Linked DNA regions of Homo sapiens: region 2 is linked to region 1. The links are contacts of gene promoters, found by promoter capture Hi-C in human tissues and cell types (Jung and others, 2019). All regions are on one chromosome and are shown on one strand. Each heading gives the region's core, a stretch centred on a gene start or on the middle of the fragment in contact. The rest is flanking DNA. Distances are from core to core; before and after follow the strand shown. Region 1 holds the start of EFNA4 (ephrin A4). Region 2 holds the start of CREB3L4 (cAMP responsive element binding protein 3 like 4).

Region 1 (5,938 bases), core at 3,439-5,938:
TCAGCTGGGTGGCACACACCTGTAGTCCTAGCTACTCGGAATACTGAGGCAGGAGAATTGCTTGCACCCAGGAGGGTGAGGTTGAAGTAAGCTGAGATCGCACCACTGTACTCCAGCCCTGGGCGACAGAGCGAGAGCGAGACTCTGTCTCAAAAAAAAAAAAAAAGTGTGCAGTGAGGCCACACAAGACATGGTGGCTCACGCCTGTAATTCCAGTGCTTTGGGAGGCAGGAGGATCTCTTGAGGTCAGGAGTTCAAGACCAGCCTGGGCAACACAGGCCAGGAGTTCAAGGCCAGCCTGAGATCCCATCTCTACAAAAAATAAAAAGTAATTTAGCCAGTTGTGAGTTGTGGTGGCACATGCCTGTAATCCCAGCTACTCGGGAAGCTAAGGCAGGAGAATCGCTTGAACCCAGGAGTTTGAGGCTGCAGAGAGGTATGATCGTGCCACTGCATTCCAGCCTGGGCAACACAGCAAGACCCTGTCTCTTAAAAAAGAAGTGGGGGAGCTGGGGGTGGTGGCTCATGCCTGTAATCTCAGCACTTTGGGAGGCTGAGGTGGGCAGATCACAAGGTCAGGAGATCGAGACCATCCTGGCTAACACGGTGAAACCCCATCTCTACTAAAAATACAAAAAATTAGCCGGGTGTGGTGGCGGGTGCCTGTAGTCCCAGCTACTCCGGAGGCTGAGGCAGGAGAATGGCGTGAACCAGAGAGGCGGAGCTTGCAGTGAGCTGAGATCGAGCCACTGCACTCCAGCCTGGGCAACAGAGCGAGACTCCGTCTAAAACCAAAACAAAACAAAACAGAAGTGGGGAGAGGATGGTGCAGTAGAAGCTCCCTCAAGGCTAAATGGGGAGAAGAGACCACAGCTTGAAGCTTCACCAGGACCCCTGGAGTCTGATCCTCCTAGATTCTTCTCACTCCTTCCCTCCTTCCCAAGGCCCCACATTAGCCAGTAGGGTCCATGCTCCCAACCCACTTACTCCTCTCCTTGCAGCAGACAGACACCTGGAGCCTCAAGCACTGGCCAGAACTCTCTGGAGTGGGCACCGCTGGGTAGTGGGAAAGTGGGAAAAAGTTAGCACAGGGAGTCACCCCTTTGTATGCCTCAGACTGTTTCAGACCCTCCCAGGTTTTCTTCTCTCCAGGTCCCTGGAAAGCGTTTCCTTACTTTGGGGCCACACCCATGTATCAGGCCCCATCCAGTCCTCTCATCTCCCTGGCCCCCTTTCCTAGCTCCTCCTACTTTCTCCTTTCTAGACATTTCCCTCCTCAGTCCTGAGTTCAGCCCATACCTCAACCCGATGTACATTAGAGACCCAGCCCCCTCCTCCTTCCAGGCCTCTCCTTCCCCCTCCCTACCCTTCTGGTACACAAGAGGTGTCCAGTGTGCCCTTGGCCACTCACAGATGTAGTAGTAAGTCTCTCCAGGTAAGAACTCAAAGCCGAGGGAGAAGGGTGTGAAGCGCTGAATCTTCTCTGAGAATTGAACATGGCCAAAGGGCAGGGAGCACACCCAGCGCTTGTAGGCCCGGGGGCCCTCTGCCTGGCAGGACTCATAGCCTGGCCAGTCCACCATGTACAAAGCAAACGTCTCGGGGCCCTCAGGGGGCCCTGGGCCTTCGTAGTGGGGGCAGACAATGTCTAGGTAATCGTTGAGGCCCAGCTCCACCACGGCGTCTCCTCGAAGCAACCTGCAGGCATAACGCAGGGGTGGGCTGAGGAGTGGAGGGCACCACGCCATGGCCATGGATGCCAGAGACACCCCTTCTCAGAGGCCCCTGCCAGCCTCTCCTCCACCCATGTGCGATGGAGCAGCTCAGGAAGGCCCGAGGTTCCCAGACTGACAACTCTTGAGAGACAAAGAGAGTGCAAGAAATGGATGAGATGATCGATTCACAGGTTCCGAGAGGCTAAGACCTGCAGTGCCCATAACCACACAGCTTAGATGTGAGAAGGAGGGTCACCACACCCTGTCCTACAGGCTGGAGCTGCCACACACCTCTCTAGCTCCAGTGCCCAACACTCAATGTGGTATAGCACCAGGCTTGATCAATGTCAGGTGGATGGATGCTGTGAAGAAGCTGGGCAGAGAGGCAGGAGGTACAGTTGCACACAGTGCAGCTGCAGACACAGAGGTGGAAACAGGGGTTGGGAAAGGTCTCCTCAAACAGATATAAAGTGAGGAACACTGTCCTTTAGACTGACTTCAACCCAAGGGTGAAAAGAATGTCACGGTAAAAAAAGAATGAGGGAGGCCAGGTGTGGTGGCTCACATCTGAATCCCAGCACTTTGGGAGGCCGAGGTGGGAGGATCGCTTGAGGCCAGGAGTTCAAGACCAGCCTGGGCAACATGGTGAGACTGTCTCTACCATAAATAAATAAATAGGCTGGGCGCGGTGGCTCACGCTTGTAATCCCAGCACTTTGGGAGGCTGAGGCGGGCGGATCATGAGGTCAGGAGATCAAGACCATCCTGGCTAACACGGTGAAACCCCGTCTCTACTAAGAATATAAAAAGAAAACTAGCCGGGCGTGGTGGCGGGCACCTGTAGTCCCAGCTACTTGGGAGGTTGAGGCAGGAGAATGGCGTGAACCCGGGAGGCGGAGCTTGCAGTGAGCCGAGATTGCGCCACTGCACTCCAGCCTGGGAGACAGAGCGAGACTCCATCTCAAAAAATAAATAAATAAATAAATAAATAAATAAATAAATAAATAAATAAAGGCCATGAGTGGTGGTGCACTCCTGTAGTCCCAGCTACTTGGGAGGCTGAGGCGGGAGGATCCTTAGAGTCCGCAAGTTCCTGTAGTGAGCTATTATGCCACCGCACTACAGCCTGGGTGACAGAGCAAGACCCTGTCTCTAAATTCTAAAAATTAAAAAAAAAAAAAAAAAAAGAATGAGGGAGTGGGTGCTAGGTGCCTCCCTTTTTTGGCCAGGAGGAGCAAGTGCCAGGCATGGGGGGAGTCCACATACTACCCAGTCTTCAGTCTTCTCAGGACTCCCTTCCCCACCTCTTGGGAGCTGCCTGGGGAAGCCAGCACAGGTGGGAAGGGCTGGAAGGGGCTGCTCCCCACAGTACTGAATGCTGCATGAACCACCCCCCATACCACAAACACAGCGAAGCATGACTTAGGAAAAGCCTCCAGTGGGTGGTCCAAGGACGACCTGTATCAGTTCTGATTAGAAATGAAGATTCCTGGGCTCAGCCAGCCCAGACTTACTAGAACGCAAGCTGAGCAAGGACAGGGCCTTGGTAAGTTTTGTTCTACTGCATCCCCCGTGCCTGGAAAAGTGCCCAGCACAGGACAGTGTTCAATAAATATTTGTGGATTGAATGAATGAGCCAGAAACCTTAAGATTGGGGGGTGAGAAACCTGAATTTTTAACAGGTCCTCCAAGTGATTCAGAAGCTTTGGTCTGTGACAGAGATAGAGAATTCAGAGTCCAAGGACAACAAAAGCTCTTATCACTTGTTATTGGTATTGTAATGACCTGTCTTTATGCAGGCTCTCCTGCCTGCGCCTGTTCTCCAGAGAGTCTGTGGAATCCCAGAGGGCAGGGTCTTGATCTTCTCATCTATATAGTTAATCCCCTGCAACCTAGCACAGGGCCGGGCACACACAGTATGTGTTTAATAAATAAATGTTAGTGAGTGAAGAAATGAATAGTCACAGATTGTCTCAAGTAGAAAATCAGAAAGAAAAACAGATAGGAAATAGGAGAGGCAGGGAGACTTGGGGAGGGGGATGGAAACAGTAAAATATACTAAGGTTCAAAGGCAGGCAGCTCAGGAGAGAGAAAGAAATAATAGTTTATATCTGTACAGCCTGAGCCTCTTTCACATACATGACCTCACTTACCCTGCCAGACTTCCCAGGGTACTAGGTATTATTAGCCCATTATACAGGTGAGATAAATGAGGTTAGGAAGGTCACGAGACTTGCCCAGAGGTGATTCGGCTAGAAGGGCAGGGCTGACACTGGAAAGAAACAGAAGGACCAATAAAGACAGAGATGAAAGCAGAGATAGCAAATGAGATCAGGAGACAGAGTGAGAGCCAGAGGTGAGACCCAGCGGGCAGGAGAGTAACCCACGCTCTTTCATAAGAGTAAAGCCCCCTCCCTCGCTCTCAAGTTCGTCAGCCACAGCTCCAGCCTGCGGGAGGCTGGGGATCGCCAGGAGAGCAGCGAGGGGGGCGGAGCCCGGAGTGCGGGCAAAGGCCCCCCCAGCTCCATGCTCCAAGACCCCCTAGACAACCCTTGGGGCTGGGGTCTTCTGCCTGCCCCCCAACACATGCGGGCTGTGGGGAGACCCAGGGCGCGCCTCGCCCCTCGCCCCTCCCCCCTCCCCCGCCGGCTCAAACAAAGGAGCCCCGGCGCGCGGCCAGGCTCAGGCGGCGCCGCGCAAAGAGCGGGTGGCGGGCGCGCGCAAAGCCCGGGAGCGCGCAGACTTGGCTGTGCGCTCGCCCGGTTCGGCCCGGCTACCTGGGGTTACTGGAGTTCCAGTAGACTACGTGGCGGAGGCTGGAGCCCCCGCGCAGAGGGGAGCCGAGGAACGCGGCCCAGAGGACAGTCCGCAGCAGGGGCAGCAGCCGCATCGCCCCCGAGGTCCGGTTTGGTCTGGCCTGGCAGGTCCCGGCCCGCTTCACAGTCGAGGAGAGAAAGGTACAAAGTGAAGAGGGAAGTTGCGGAAAGGGGAGTGGGGTACGGAGATTCACTGACCCCGCCCCTGAATAACTTTCCGCCAATGGGAGCGCGTCTCCTCCTCTCCACCCAGCGCCAACTCCAGTTAACCCTCTGTGCACCGCAGCGCGCGCCAGGTTCGCCAAAGCTTCCACTGAGGCTGCACCGCACTGCGAGGGGGCGGGAAGGAAGGACGTATTCCAACAGCAGTATTTTTAGGGAGGTCATCTCTTTCGTGTCTGCTTTAGTGCAGGGTAGACTGCCTTATTAGAAGTTTGGAAGATTTTAAATAAGGGTACATAACCTTTGCCCAGATAGGGGAAAGTGAGGCGCGGGCGAGGATCCATGAAGCCTGTCCAACCACCTTCATGCACTGCCCCGTTTTCTTTGCACATCTAGGGACAGTGCAAGCGGAAGGGACAACACAGCTCTGGGACCACCTTCCCTAAAGAGCCTTAGGTGGCGCGCTAGATGCTCACTTTAGGATTGGCGTCTGTCCCTTGCCGCTCCACACCTTCGTTCCGGGCTGGGGGCCCACGCGGCCCCAGTCCCTAAGACGAAGTAATGAGGTGGTTGCGGCCTGTACAAAGCACCTTTGTTCCCGATCCCTCAGGTGGCGGCGGCGGAGGGGGAGGAGGCAGGTGCGCGGCCTTGGGATCGTGGGAGCAGCCGCCGCCCCGCTCCGCCCTGGCTCCTGGGCTCTGGGAGCATCAGCCAGATCCACTTTTCCCAGCCAATGGTCAGAGTGGGGACGGCAGGTCCAACAGCTTGACAGATTGCGCCGAAAGCCACCCCAGTCTGGGCAGAGGGAAGCTGCGAGCATCCCGGGGACACACGCCGACCCTTTCTGGTACTCCCGCCCCACACAGCCCGCCCTCGTCTGAGGCGGCAGCGTCTTCTGGCGGCCAAACCTGGAACCGCAGCAGGAGCGACCCGGGTTCTAGAAGCAGACAAACTCTGGGGAACGCTCCCAAGATGTCACGTTTATTGCAACTGAGCAGAGACAGGCTGTGCGGACCTTCCTCAATCCCGTCCAACCCCCAGCCCCTCCCCAAGCCCCCGCTGCAACTACGCCGGCAGGTCCGCAGAGTGTTGCTTGACAGCGCGTGGCGGTGCCCGGAGTCTTAAGACACCGCCAGTCTCTGGCGCCTTCAGTCATGGTAGGGGACTCCAGAGGGCACGCCCGCCTCTTGAAGCCCTAAGTCCGGCTTGGAGGCAGCGGAACCTCCGGAGAGGTCAGAGGTAGAGC
Region 2 (5,128 bases), core at 2,482-4,981, 1.1 Mb after region 1:
TAGGAAAAGGTTATATATATGTGCAGGGAAGAATTTTGGAAGTCCTCCCTGACTTATGCTTCATTTTCAGTCCTTTCACTTCTTGGGCATGGAGACAGTTATTATACAACTTACGTCTATTTTGGGGGTGGTCTGTTTTCAGACCTGTCTCCAAGTGGGAGCTGAAGCCTCTTATCACAGAGTTGTGTCTCAACCCCACCCCCACTCCCACTCGTCACACTCACACAGCCACGGTCCCCACCGGACTTCCAGCCTTGCAGTCCCTGTTCCTGTAGCCTAGTTACCGGAACCTCTGGAGGGGGGCAGTGGAGTCCCAGCTCCAGGACGGATCCTGTCGAGAAGATATCCTCTGGGGGCTCCAGCCACGCGTCCAGCAGGTCAGGGATTCCGAGATCCATGCTTCTGCAGGAAGGCGTGTGGGACGGAGGGTTGCAGAAACGGAATGATGGCTGCTTACTACCCCCTACAGTTTCTGGGCTCCTCTGCTCCCTTTTCCATTATCCCCGCCCCCCCACTCCTTCCTCACTAGCAAGCCCCCTCACCTGTCCCCTCGATATTTCACCTTCAGCCCTATCCCTCAGGTTTAGACAAAGAGGCCCCCCCCAAGCATTACCTGTTCTGAAGAGCCCAGCCCTGTCAAGCCAGCATAGCCCGTTGACCTCCCCAAACACTACACCTTTTCTTTCTTCCAGGATCTCGTATCCTGGACCTGCCAGCCAAACCCCGCCCCCAGCCTTACACTACAAAAGTGGATGCCACCTTGCCAGGAGCCACGGTAGGGCCGCTGTATCTGGGAGTAGGGGACTAAGAGTCTGAGGGTCCACAAACGGAATTTAAGAAGTAGGTAGCCGCGCCCTTTCTGCTGCAGTTTTCTCTTAGCTATAGTAAATCTTCCTGAGGGTTTGGTGTCTCCTAGCTGAAGAACAGAAAAGGCTGTGACTGGAGCACAGGACTCCTGAATGCCTGTTCTGTAGCCCTCGCTTTTGCAAGAGGGAGATCATGGCAGGGTTGTAAACAAAGGCGGAAAGAGTCAAGAGACCTGCGAATTTACTAGGGCATCCCCTCGCCCACCGCGTGGCGCTCTTCCCAAAGCTGAGTCCTGATTGGAAGCTGAAGACTTAGGTTTCGGAGGGGCAGGACATCGAGCCAATGGCACACTACCCTCTCAAGGCCGCCTCTTCCGTAACTGGTCGGAGACAGTTTGGCTGTTCAGGAGAGTCAGGCCAATGGGGCCGCAGTTCTTTCTTTTTTTTTTCTTTATTCTTATTTTTGGAGACAGGGTCTCGCTCTGTTGCCCAGGCTGGAGTGCGGTGGTGCGATCACGGTTCCATGCAGCCCCCGACCTCCCGGGCTCAGGTGATTCTCCCGCCTCAGCACCGCGAGCAGCTAGGACCACAGGCGCGAGCCACTGCGTCCGGCCGGCGGGACTTATTTGTCAGGCGGGGATTGGGTTCCGCCAGCCTAAAGGGAGGGGTAAGCGCCAGAATATGAATCGCCGGGAAGCTGGGAGAAAGCTCCGGGAAACCCTGAGCAGCCAGGTTTGTCTTCGCGCGCCACGTGACTCGGAAGCTCCGGTTTCACCCAGGCGGGGAGTCAACAGCCCGCTGACCCCAGTGGAGCGGTGATCCTCGCTCGGCAGGCGGCAGGAGCGCGATGGCGGGTTTCCCCGTCCGCAAGCCGAGCAGTGTGGCGTTAATGGAGAACAGCAGCTGTGCGCACACGCTCGCTGCACGCTGCTCATTCACGGAGGGACACGGGGCAGGAAAACTGCAACAAGTTAAAAAGCCTTTTGCGTTTGTTGTCTTATTGTTTGCATACAGTTACCGGGAACATTATGTCCCACACTTGTATAATTTACAAAACGTTTTCATAAAAATTGTTCTCTTCCTTAATCCATAACAGTTCTGAGGCACACACGGCGGGTAATATTTTGCAAATTTTACCTATGAGGAGGCAGATCCATGACTAGAAAGTAGTAATACCAAAACTCAGGGTTGATTGATTATTTTTATTTTTTTGCCTTGGTCTAATGTCTGATGGTCCAGGAATTCACTTCAAGTAAAACAATGGAGGTAAACTGATACAGGTATGGTTTTCAGTAGTATTTCAGAAAAGGGTAGCTGGGTGAGTAAAACAGTAGTTTGGAGTGTGAATCCCAGAACTCAAACTGCTACTAATTATCCTTATGAAGATTTGAACGGGCTAAGGGTAAAAACGGGAACAGGGTCTAGTCAGGCATTTCCATGTTACTCATATAATTCTTACAGCAGATGGAGCTGACAAGTTTGTTTGTTTGTTTTTCTTTTGCTCTGTGGCCCAGGCTGGAGTGCAGAGGCTCGATCTCGGCTCACTGCAAGCTCCGCCTCCCGGGTTCACGCCATTCTCCTGCCTCAGCCTCCCTAGTAGCTGGGACTACAGGCGCCCAGCTAATTTTTTTGTATTTTTAGTAGAGACAGGGTTTCACCGTGTTAGCCAGGGTGGTCTCGATCTGACCTCGTGATCCGTCCACCTCGGCCTCCCAATGTGCTGGGATTACAGGCGTGAGCCACCACGCCCGTCCGAGCTGACAAGTTTAAGTAACTTTCTCAAGGTTACCCTGTAAGTAGCTGAACCAAGATTTGGATGCTTCAGCCCATGTTCTTCACACTATCAACCCACCTTGTGGGGCTTTCTCAGATTTCTTATCTGTCTTTCCCGCTCATATCTCTCCATCCTGCTCAAGTAGTGAAGAGACAAAGCAGCCTTCCTAGATTGATGCAGAGCTCCAAGGAAAGCAAAGCTGTTCTTGTTGAGATCATTCTGAGAGCGAGAAAGGTGGTTAAATACATTTCAAAGGGCTTCCTGCGGGCTGTATGTGCAGAGATGATTTGAGTGGGGAATGTAGTTAGCTTCCGTTGATGTTAGAACTGGAAGGACCCTCTGCAGTCATCTGCTTGTTTAACTTCCTCCTTGCCCCTGATTTATCAAACTCTGGTGAGGAAAACTGACTTGCCTAAAATCATACATCAAGGTAAGGTAAAATTGAGGAGATCTATTGGGCCGGGTGTGGTGGCTCACACCTGCAGTCCCAGCACTTTGGGAGGCTGAAGCGGGTGGATCACCTGAGGTCAGGAGTTCAAGACCAGCCTGGTCAACATGGTGAAATCCCGTCTCTACTAAAAATACAAAAATTAGCCGGGCGTGGTGGCGGGCGCCTGTAATCCCAGCTACTCGGGAGGCCGAGGCGGGAGAATTGCTTGAAACCTGGGAGGCAGAAGTTGTAGTGAGCCAAGAGCATGCCACTGCATTCCAGCCTGGGCAACACAGCAAGACTCTGTCAAGAAAGAAAGGAGGAAAGAAGAAAGGAAGGAAGGAAGGAAAAAGAAAAGAAATAAAGTTGCCAAGAGATTTTAAATGTTCTCATCACAAATAAATATGTGAAGTAATGCATATGTTAATTAGCTTGATTTACCCATTCTGCAATGTACATATATTTCTTTTCTTTTTTCTTTTTTTTTGAGACGGAGTCTCGCTGTGTCGTCCAGGCTGGAGTGCAGAGGTGTGATCTTGGCTCACTGCAACCTCCGCCTCCCCGGTTCAAGCGATTCTCCTGCCTCAGCCTCCTGAGTAGCTGGGATCATAGGCATGCGCCACCACGCCTGGCTAATTTTTGTATTTTTAGTAGAGACAGGGTTTCACCATGTTGAGCAGGCTGGTCTCCAACTCCTGACCTCGTCATCTGCCCGCCTCGGCTTCCCAAAGTGCTGGGATTACAGGCGTGAGCCACCGCGCCCGGCCCAATGTACATATATTTCAAAACATCATGTTGTACACCATAAATATATACAATTATTAATCATATATGACATATGTATGTGTATAAATAAACAAATATATATATTTGACAACTATAAAGGTAGAACTTGGACCAGAATCCAGGTTTCCTGACCCCCCCAGTCATAATTCCTTGTTAATGTTACCAATTACGAATAATTTTTTTTTTTGAGACGAAGTTTCGCTGTTGTTGCCCAGGCTGGAGCGCAATGGCGCGATCTCGGCTCACTGCAATTTCCGGCTCCCGGGTTCAAGCGATTCTCCTGCCTCGGCCTCCCGAGTAGCTGGGATTACAGGCCCCCGCCACCACGCCCGGCTAATTTTTGTATATTTAGTAGAGACGGGGTTTCACCATGTTGACCAGGCTGGTCTTGAACTTCTGTCCTCAGGTGATTCATCCTCGGCCTTCCAAAGTGCTTGGATTACAGGCGTGAACCACCGCGCCCGGCCCCTTAAGAAGTCTTCACATTCCTCTTTTACTTAAGGAATTACTGGGCTTCGTTTCTGGAGCCTTGTGAGAAGCATTACACTGTCCCCCCTTTTTTTTTTCTTTTTTAAAATTAATTTTCCTGTAGGAAGCAAGATCCCATCTGTCCCTTCTTTAGGCAATGAAGCTTTTTTCACCTTTGCATAAAAGAACAGCTGAGCCCCCTTTTTAAATTTTCTTTTGTCTTACCGTCCCTTGAGGCTAGAAGAGGATTCTCAAGGCACAGAGTTGTGGGCCACAAGAATCCAGGTTGAGGAAACGGTGAAAGTCCTGAGCTGAAACAACTACCTTGGGGCATTCAAGGAACAGCAAACAGCAAACCGACCGGCGAGGGTGGCGGGAGCTGGGCTGGAAATCAGGTGGGAGAACCGGCCAGACGCCCGCAGGCGCGGTACGCAGATATCCTGGAATGCGCTGGGGGCTCTTCCCTGGGCGCGGCTTCAGCACCCCGCATTCCGGTCCCACCACGTCCCCACCCACCTGGAGAAGGCGGAGGCTGCACTGAGTGCCATAAGTAGTCGAGAAGGGATGATTTTCAAGACATACCCTCTCTTTGCTTTCCCCCCTTTCCAATTCTGCCTTGTCTTTTTCCTTGTTGTGGGTGCTGGTGAGGGAAAGCAGTCAAGGAAGTTGGTCCCAAGAGGGGAATGCTTTCCCTTGGGCGCCAAGAGGCACTGACGAGGTGTCAGAGCCTTCTGAGGGACAGATGAGACTTTGGCCCAAGGCCAGGAAGATGTTTTCAGATGTGGGCCGGAAGACTTGACAATGCGGGGTCTCCCTCTTTTAAAAATATCCATATAATCAAAGCCTTTGTTGACTGGCCCGCTC

Evidence for each region. Contacts are between HindIII fragments. The study calls those that stand out against the background at their distance.
Region 2: a fragment that was not itself captured here is called in contact with the fragment with the promoter of EFNA4 in region 1 in 1 of the 25 tissues and cell types used here (hippocampus).

The regions. Positions count from the first base shown.
Region 1 is chr1:155,062,490-155,068,427 of GRCh38, reverse strand. EFNA4 (ephrin A4) reads right to left here and starts at 4,688. Exons shown (of 4, transcript NM_005227.3): 1 at 4,492-4,688; 2 at 1,412-1,698; 3 at 988-1,056. The coding sequence starts at 4,604. It overlaps ADAM15 (ADAM metallopeptidase domain 15), which reads right to left. Exons shown (of 23, transcript NM_207197.3): 23 at 5,653-5,938. The coding sequence ends at 5,926. EFNA4-EFNA3 (EFNA4-EFNA3 readthrough) reads right to left here and starts at 4,688. Exons shown (of 5, transcript NM_001407761.1): 1 at 4,492-4,688. The coding sequence starts at 4,604. It overlaps DCST1-AS1 (DCST1 antisense RNA 1), which reads left to right and starts at 4,437. Exons shown (of 4, transcript NR_040773.1): 1 at 4,437-4,671. It also overlaps ADAM15-EFNA4. RefSeq lists an enhancer at 3,236-3,737 and silencers at 4,228-4,377, 4,668-4,817, 5,198-5,287. The HindIII fragment of the contact is 5,150 bases long and covers 2,150-5,938 here.
Region 2 is chr1:153,963,796-153,968,923 of GRCh38, reverse strand. CREB3L4 (cAMP responsive element binding protein 3 like 4) reads right to left here and starts at 1,022. Exons shown (of 10, transcript NM_001255978.2): 1 at 760-1,022; 2 at 225-402. The coding sequence starts at 398. It also overlaps a transcript of SLC39A1 not described here. RefSeq lists enhancers at 756-875, 906-1,015, 1,226-1,445, 880-1,736, 4,600-5,128 and 1 more and a silencer at 764-1,265. The HindIII fragment of the contact is 3,075 bases long and covers 2,194-5,128 here.